Regions from separate parts of the Homo sapiens genome. Here all the other regions are linked to region 1. Evidence: promoter capture Hi-C in 16 types of primary human blood cells and fetal thymus (Javierre and others, 2016). All regions are on one chromosome and are shown on one strand. Each heading gives the region's core, a stretch centred on a gene start or on the middle of the fragment in contact. The rest is flanking DNA. Distances are from core to core; before and after follow the strand shown. Region 1 holds the start of LRRC4 (leucine rich repeat containing 4). Region 2 has its middle 21 kb from the start of MIR129-1. Region 3 overlaps SND1 (staphylococcal nuclease and tudor domain containing 1).

What was found. Contacts are between HindIII fragments. The CHiCAGO score rates a contact against its expected background, and 5 or more counts as called.
Region 2: a fragment that was not itself captured here is called in contact with the fragment with the promoter of LRRC4 in region 1 in 1 of 17 cell types (M2 macrophages); the score reaches 6.8 in M2 macrophages.
Region 3: a contact is called between a fragment that was not itself captured here and the fragment with the promoter of LRRC4 in region 1, in 1 of 17 cell types (neutrophils). The highest score is 8.6, in neutrophils.

Annotation. Positions count from the first base shown.
Region 1 is chr7:128,029,773-128,032,755 of GRCh38, reverse strand. LRRC4 (leucine rich repeat containing 4) reads left to right here and starts at 1,319. Exons shown (of 2, transcript NM_022143.5): 1 at 1,319-1,843; 2 at 2,016-2,983. The coding sequence starts at 2,116. All of the region lies in intron 16 of SND1 (staphylococcal nuclease and tudor domain containing 1), which reads right to left. RefSeq lists silencers at 36-105, 756-875. The HindIII fragment of the contact is 11,709 bases long and covers 1-1,803 here.
Region 2 is chr7:128,185,485-128,188,348 of GRCh38, reverse strand. No RefSeq gene overlaps it. Among named protein-coding and RNA genes, the nearest start is that of MIR129-1, 21 kb to the left of the region's middle. The HindIII fragment of the contact is 2,948 bases long and covers 62-2,864 here.
Region 3 is chr7:127,866,275-127,869,063 of GRCh38, reverse strand. The region is part of intron 12 of SND1 (staphylococcal nuclease and tudor domain containing 1); the gene reads right to left. Among named protein-coding and RNA genes, the nearest start is that of SND1-IT1, 130 kb to the left of the region's middle. The HindIII fragment of the contact is 5,508 bases long and covers 1-2,789 here.

The DNA of each region.
Region 1 (2,983 bases), core at 70-2,569:
GGTCCTGGGAGCCTCGTGGCCCCGGCCGCCGTCCCCCGAGTCCCCACCACGCAGTTCCGAACTCCGAACGCGAGTCCGCGCCCCGTCAGCAGTCAGCGGGGGTGAGGATGACGCGGGCCGGGCGAGAGGCAGGCCAAATGCAGCAGCCCCGCCGCGGGCCGCCGGGCCCCTGAGCCCCGCTCTTCAGAGCCAGGGGGCCCCGGGTGCGGGCCGGAGGGCGGGGGCCGGCGCGGGCTCTCCCGCCGCAGCCCCGCGCCGCTCCAGCCTATCAGCGGCCACCCAACTGCTCCCTCCGACCGGCCCAAAATAGCTGCGAACGCCTGCGACTTGCGCGCGGCCCCTCACTTGACGCTCACTCCGGCTCGCTCGCCCGCTCGCCCTGGCCCCGCTCCGCTCGTCTAGAGGGGGCGGGGAGGAAGCGGCCCGGGGAGGGGGGAGGGGGGAGGGGGAGAGAGGAAGAGAGGAGGAAGGAAGGAGGAAAGAGGAAGACGGGCGGCCGGAGGCGCGGGGCTGCGCGGCGCCGGCCGGCGCGGCGCTGGAAGGCGCCGGCGTTAACCCCGCGAGGCAGGCGACGGAGGGGGAGCGGCGCTAATACATAAGAGCACTGCATCACGCTAATCTTCTCCCAGAACAGTATGCGTCAGCAGTACATTCACGTTCTGACTGAAGGACAAAAGGATGAGAGAGCAGTCTGCGTGGCTGCCGCCTGCAACACCGCGAGCCCGGCGCGAGGAGGAGACGGTGGGCGCCGCGCGCAGGGGCCCCGCTGCTGCTGCTGCCGCCGCTAGCCAGCGGGGACTATGTTCCTGGGCTCCGGAGCGTTTCCCGCAGCCGCGACCCCCGCTGCTCACGCCGCTGCAGCAGTCCGCTGGCGGCGCGGCCACTGAGGGCGCCGGGAGCCGAAGCCGCGAACTCGCTCCCTCCGCACAAAGCCGGAGCCGGCGGCGCGCCGGGGGCCGGGCAGCGGCGGGCGGCGACGGGCGGTTGCGCGCCGCCGGGGGCTGCGGCCGCCGCCGCCGCCGGACCCGCGCCCGCCCCCGGACTCTCTGAAGGGGCCTGCGGTGCGGGCGCGACCGCGGGCGCCGCGCGCTCCTCCGGCCGGCGGACCGGGTCCGAGCGCAGCCGCCACGCCGCTGGTCCTCGGGGGCCGGACGGAGCGCCGCCCCGCGTGCCGGCAGCCGGCGGACTGGAGAACTGACCCCCCGTTTTTGTCTCTTCCACCCTCCGAGAAGAGGCGAGGAGAAAGGGGGTGTGTGTCTGGGGAGGGCGAAGGCGCCGCGAACACCTCCTCTTAACTCTCGCCGCTCCGCGAGCTCACGACCGCAATCAGCTGCCGCCGGCCCGGAGCGGCCGACGCCGGGAGAGGGAGCGCAGCATCCAGCGAGTGCGGCCTGGGCGGCTTCGGGGCGCCCCCGCACTCCCTCCGGCGGCGGCCCGCAGAGCGGGCCGGGGCCGCCGGAGCGCACTTTGGCGATGAAGCGCCTTCCCCCGCGGCTGGAGCGAGCCGGTGCCAGGGTCCAAGGACAAAGCCGGGAAGCGCTGGTGGCGCCGCTCCTTGGGCGGAGGGGGGGGCATGCACCTGCATAGCCCGCCGGGCCTTGGCTCTCCCAGGCGCGCCTCAACTCCGCGGCTTCGCCGGCTCCGGCTCCGGATTTACTAGAGGCCATTTTGTCTCCCCCACCCCTTCCCTCCCCTCCCCTCCCCTCCCCTCTGCCCTCCCCGCCCCCACCACTTCCCCCTTTTGTTAATTAAAACTAAGAAGTCGGAATGGGAACGAGGTGCCCAGCTCCCGTGGAGAAAGCTTAAGGACACCACGCCAGTGCTTTCCTGCCTTCCTTCCGAGGTAGGTGACGGCGAACTGGGTGGGGACGGTTGCAGTGTGGGAGAGTCGTAGCTTTCGGAGGGCTTGCCTTGAGGGTGGGTTGGGAGACCAGGGGCCGCTCGAGTTTGGCAGGATTTTTTTCGGCCGATCCGCTCCGTCTCTCTAATCGCCCCCTCCCCACCTCCTTCTCCAGATGGAAAGAGGAGCTCCTAGCTCACTTAAGCCGGGGTAGGGCTGGTTCTCCTTTCCGAGCCAAAATCCCAGGCGATGGTGAATTATGAACGTGCCACACCATGAAGCTCTTGTGGCAGGTAACTGTGCACCACCACACCTGGAATGCCATCCTGCTCCCGTTCGTCTACCTCACGGCGCAAGTGTGGATTCTGTGTGCAGCCATCGCTGCTGCCGCCTCAGCCGGGCCCCAGAACTGCCCCTCCGTCTGCTCGTGCAGTAACCAGTTCAGCAAGGTGGTGTGCACGCGCCGGGGCCTCTCCGAGGTCCCGCAGGGTATTCCCTCGAACACCCGGTACCTCAACCTCATGGAGAACAACATCCAGATGATCCAGGCCGACACCTTCCGCCACCTCCACCACCTGGAGGTCCTGCAGTTGGGCAGGAACTCCATCCGGCAGATTGAGGTGGGGGCCTTCAACGGCCTGGCCAGCCTCAACACCCTGGAGCTGTTCGACAACTGGCTGACAGTCATCCCTAGCGGGGCCTTTGAATACCTGTCCAAGCTGCGGGAGCTCTGGCTTCGCAACAACCCCATCGAAAGCATCCCCTCTTACGCCTTCAACCGGGTGCCCTCCCTCATGCGCCTGGACTTGGGGGAGCTCAAGAAGCTGGAGTATATCTCTGAGGGAGCTTTTGAGGGGCTGTTCAACCTCAAGTATCTGAACTTGGGCATGTGCAACATTAAAGACATGCCCAATCTCACCCCCCTGGTGGGGCTGGAGGAGCTGGAGATGTCAGGGAACCACTTCCCTGAGATCAGGCCTGGCTCCTTCCATGGCCTGAGCTCCCTCAAGAAGCTCTGGGTCATGAACTCACAGGTCAGCCTGATTGAGCGGAATGCTTTTGACGGGCTGGCTTCACTTGTGGAACTCAACTTGGCCCACAATAACCTCTCTTCTTTGCCCCATGACCTCTTTACCCCGCTGA
Region 2 (2,864 bases), core at 286-2,785, 160 kb before region 1:
CCTCCACCCTGGGTCTCGCTAGAGTTCTGGCCCTCTCTTTTCTCCCCATCTCAGCTAAGCTTTTTGGAAGAGCAATCTATATTCTCAGATACCAACATTAGTGAGAACAAAAATAAAATATTACAAATAGAATTCAGCAGAAGAATAATAAAAATAATAACATAATGACAAAGTAAAGTTTTTTTCCAGGAATTTGAAAATTGTCAACATCGGGAAATCTCTCTCTCTCTTTTTTTTTTTTTTTATTTTTGAGACGGAGTTTCACTCTTATTGCTCAGGGTGGAGTACAATGGTGCGATCTCGGCTCACCACAATCTCCGCCTCCCGGGTTCAAGCGATTCTCCTACCTCAGCCTCCCGAGTAGCTGGGATTACAGGCATGTGCCACCACACCCAGCTAACTTTTTGGGTATTTTTATTAGAGACGGGGTTTCTCCATGTTGGTCAGGCTGGTCTCAAACTCCCGACCTCAGGTGATCGGCCCGCCTTGGCCTCCCAAAGTGTTAAGATTACAGGCGTAAGCCACTGTGCCCAGCCTTGGGAAATCTCTTAATGCAATTTATCTCATGAATAGATGAAAGGAGAAAATCATACCATCATTTGATAGAAGCCCAAAGGACATTTGATAAAATCCAATACACTTTTTTAAAAAAAATATTCTTACTAAACTAGCAATAAAGAGATAATCCCAAAGCAGGATAAAGAACAAATCTAAACCAAGAGCTAACATTATACTTAAAGATAAAACTCTGACCTGTGAATGCATAAGAATTTCCTTGATGAACGCTGTCATGAAATGTTGTTTGAAAGTGAGTTCTAGTCAAAAGAAAAATAAGGCCGGGTGTGGTGGCCCTTCCTGTATCCCAGCACTTTGGGAAGCCAAGGCATGAGGATCACTTGAGTTCGGGAGTTCGAGACCAGCCTGGCCAACATGGTGAAACCCCGTCTCTACTAAAAATACAAAAATTAGCCAAGTGTGCTGGCACACACCTGTAATTCCAGCTACTCGGGAGGCTGAGGCAGGAGAATCGCTTGAACCCAGGAGGCGATGGTTGCAGTGAGCCAAGATCGGGCCACTACACTCCGGCCTGGGAGACAGATTGAGACTTTGTCTTAAAAAAGAACAAAAAAAAAGAGACTTTTTCTTTTTTTAAAAAAAATGTGATTTAATTATTATAAAGAGGGAGTCAAAAACCCGATTTACTCCACAGAAAATCTGAAGATCAAGTGAAATTTATAATTAATAAGAGAGTTCAATAAGGCAGTTATAAAATAAATGTAGATAATTTTCTTAGCTTTTGAACACAGTGGCAACAACCAACCTGAAAATAGAATGGGAAAGAGAATTTCATTCATAGTAGCAACTAAAATATAAAATATTAGGGAAGAATTTTAACAAGAAGAGTGCAAGACCCCGTACAGAAAAGCCCTTATGCTTTACTGAATAATTTGAATTAAGAGGAGGCCATACTTTGTTTCAAGATGAGGAGACTTGATATTGTAAAAATGTCAGTCTTGCCCAAATTCACCTAATGCATTTCCCATAATTGCAATCAAAATCTCAATTGAGTTTTGAGTAGAATTTGATAAAATGAATCTCACATTAATCTGGATGAATAAGTATGAGGAAATTAATAAGAAAATGTCGGGGAAAAAGACTGAATTAGAACAGGGCACACTTGTCATACCAAGTATGAAAAAGGTATATTTTAAATCTGTAGTAATTGCAGCAGTAAAATTCTGGTGTCAGAGGAAACAGACAGATCAAAGGAGCAGAATATAAAATCCAATTGGCATTTCAAGTTGGTGAGGGAAAGAAGGTGCTGTTCAAGAAAAGGTGCTGGGATAACATGAATGCTGTTTTCTCCTCATTTGAGGGAAGGAAGAGAAGAAGGGAGGAAGGGAGGAAGGGAGGAAAGGAGGAAGGGAGGAAAGGAGGAAGGAAGGCCGGAAGGGAGGGAGGAAGGAAGGAAGGGAGGAAAGGGAAGGAGGGAGGGAGAGATACCTAAGGGGGGGATACATGTATGTGTCCTTTCAAAGGTACCCTGTATCTATACAAAATTATTTATATAGAAAAAAGTAGTCATTTGTCTGCCACGTATGCTTCTAAATATCTCTTCTCAATTTATCATAATGTAAGATCTTATATATGTGGCTTTTTTCCAGTGCAGAAGTAAGTCATTTTTATATAGTTGATTTAATTTTTTTTTTGAGACAGGGTCTCGCTGTGTCACCCAGGCTAGAATGCAGTGGCTCAATCTCAGATCACTGCAACCTTGGCCTCCTGGGTTCAAGCAATTCCCCTGCCTCAGCCTCCCGAGTAGCTGGGATTACAGGCACATGCCACCACACCCAGCTAACTTTTTGGGTATTTTTAGTAGAGACGAGGTTTCACCATGTGGCCCAGGATGGTCTTGAACTCCTGGCCTCAAGCAGTCTACCAGCCTCAAGTAGTCTATCTGCCTCAGCCTCCCAGAGTGCTAGGATTACAGGCATGAGCCACCATGCCCGGCTGATTTAATTTTTGTGTGTGTTATGGCTTCATGAGTCTTTCTTTACTCCAAGACTTTGTGTGTGTGTGTGTGTGTGTGTGTGTACAGGGGTGTTGGTGTGTGTCTATGCTCCGTGTTTTCTTCTAGTGCTTTTATGACTTCAGCTTTAACTTGAATATTTTCTCCATTATTTTGATGTAAAGAGTAATGTGGGAATCATCTTTTCTCCTAATGTATCTTCCGCTGTCCCAGCCCTATATATTGCACCACCTGTCTTTTCCCCTCTGATATGAGATGCCATTTTACGACACACTAAATTCCCACATAAATTTGGGTCTATTTCTGAGCTCTTCATTCTGTTCTGTTGATCTGA
Region 3 (2,789 bases), core at 225-2,724, 160 kb after region 1:
TTTAGTTTTCTCTATAGCACTTTTCATCACCTATATATCTTTACTGCTTCTTTATCTGATTGCCCCCATTGGAACGAAAGTGCCGCACAAAATAGATCTCTCTATCATATGCACTGATCTATCCCCAGTGCAAAGAACTGGCGCCTGGCAACGTCATGTACTCAACTCAGTAAATAAGCTGTTGACTAGAGATGGAGGAAAAAAAATACCCACAAACTAAAGTTAAAAAAAATAAAACAACCATATAATGTTCATGTGGCCTAAGAAAACAGGTGCAATTTGGAGATTACATGCAAATGAGGTTGAGTTTTACTTACATTTGGAAACATGAGATTTTAAATTCCAAGTCTGGCTTTAGTAAGATGAAACTTGAGAAAGACATTTACCTTTTAAGTCATATTTTCTGTTCTATCATACCAAGCGGACTAACTTGACCTGAAGGACCTCTAGGGTGGTAGACAAAGCTAATGCTCTAAATGATGCCACAGAAGGCATCATCTGTGTTTCGGACCTTAGCCAAGCCTAGAAATAAAGACATACCCCATGGGGAGCCATGGAAAGGACACGAGCATTTGTTAAGTCAAATACCCTCTATAAGGCAGAAAAGATATTACATACTGGGAATAAAATAGTTATTTGTCACCTAGTGCTGTGTGTGCTATGAGTCTTTTTGTTGTTGTTGGCAGTGTCTGGTTCTGTCACCCAGGCTGGAGTGCAGTGGTGCAATCACAGTTACCTGCAACCTCCACCTCCTTGGCTCAAGTGAGCCTCCCACCTCAGCCTCCTGAGTACCTGGGACTATAGGCGCATGCTGCTACACCTGGCTATTTTTTAAGTAGAGAAAGGGTTTCACCATGTTGCCCAAGCTGGACCTGAACTCTTGGGCTCAAGTGATTCACCCACCTTGGTCTCTCAAAGTGCTGGGATTACAGGCGTGAGCCACCATGCCTGACCTACTATGAGTCTTATTATAAGTAAGCACCAAGTGTTGGGGGAAGACACACACAAGATGCACAATTCAGATTTTAGACGGAGTACCTACAGCAAAACTTTCCTGAGAAATGAAGCACTGAAGAATGAGTAAGAGCTAACCAGATGAAATGTATGTTCCAGGCAGAGAGCAGATTAAGTTAAATAGTAATGCATTTAATTTTTTTTTTTTTAAAGGAATGGTGAATGAGAACCAGGGAATGTAAATATAAACATGGAGAGGTAGGGAGGGGCCAGGTCATGGCTCAGTATACTCCACTCCTAAGGTTATGGAATGATTCTAAAAATCAGATGTGTGTTTCAAAAAGAGAATTAAAGCAGTAATGTAGAAAATGGATTGGAGGGCAGTAAGACTAGAAATAGAGAGGCTAGTAAAAAGAACTGCTGAGTTATTCTACACTGACAGCATAAACCAGGCAGTGAGGAGAGCCAGGATAGGATGAACCTGATATACCAGTAGGTAATTACATACTGGGAGTTAGGAGGAGATAAAGACGACAACATGATCTCTAGACTAAAAGACTATGTAAATGGTGACACCATCAAAAGACGCGATCATTTGAGTAAAGGAACAGCAGTTGAATATAGGTGGGAAGCCTGCTAGAGACAGGGAAAGGGAAGTCAGCAGCATCACCATCAGATCACCCAGAGACTGAATAGTGGTAAGAAGAGGGACAATGACAGAAGCCTAGGAAGCACAAATATTTAAGGAGCATTCAAAGCAGACTGAGAAAAAGTTATCAGAGTTGTAGAAGGAAATCCACGAAAGTGTGGTATACTGAAAAGGTAGAAGAAAACAAGATTTTAAAAGATAAGTATTAAATACTCCAGAGAGGTCAAGTAAAAGTAAAGACTGAGAAGTGTCCTTCAGGGAAGCATTGGTGAATGATGGGGAAGGTTCAAAGCTAGAAGGGAAAGGAATGAATAGCAAACGGGACAGAATTAAAATGTCTTTTAATTATTCTAATTAACTTGGCTATGAAGAGAAGGCAAGAAGAAGAAAAGCAGATATAATAGGATAGAAGACTGAAGGACAATTAAAAATAACACTAGTTAAAAAGAGAATAGCCAATAGCACAAAATCCCAAGGAGAACAAAAGAACTGGAATCTAGAGCATGTAGGCAGAACAATTAGTTTGGAAAGAAGAAGGTGAAACTGTCTACGGAGATGGGAAGGCAGGAGGTAAGAAAGCAAGCATAACAAGGAAGGCAAACTGGAAGCTGAGAGAACAAGAAGTTAAAGGCATCTTCCTGATAACCCTATATTTACTCCATAAAGTAAGAGATGAGACTGCTGACAGTGATAGGAAGAGATATAGTTAAGTAGGGGGGCTTGGTGGACAAAAGCGGTCAAAGTCTAAAATAGCCATGGTAGTGAAATAGCACCATTAAAACAGCATTTATGGAAAATTAATCCAGGAGTATTATGCAGCAAGATTTGAAGAGGGGGAAAACCTGCAGGTACGAAATGCTTGGATCTGCCTTGTTGAGTGCATGGAGTGGAGGGATGGCAAGAGTAGAAGGAAAGAACTGATAACAGAATTCTTTAACATATAAATAACTAAATCACTACCTTCCTAATGAAATTGCTTTCTCTCAATACCCCAAGGAACACCTAGGCAGCATCAAACACCTTTAATTATTTCAGCTCCTGGTGGGAATCAAAGCTATTATTGATGGGCAGCCCCTAGCTTTTAGATTTCCCAATCCAAAATGCTATATGCTTCTTGAACCATAGCTCATAATCCAACTTAGTAACTCATTAAATATGAATGACTATGCCTACTTAAAGCACATCT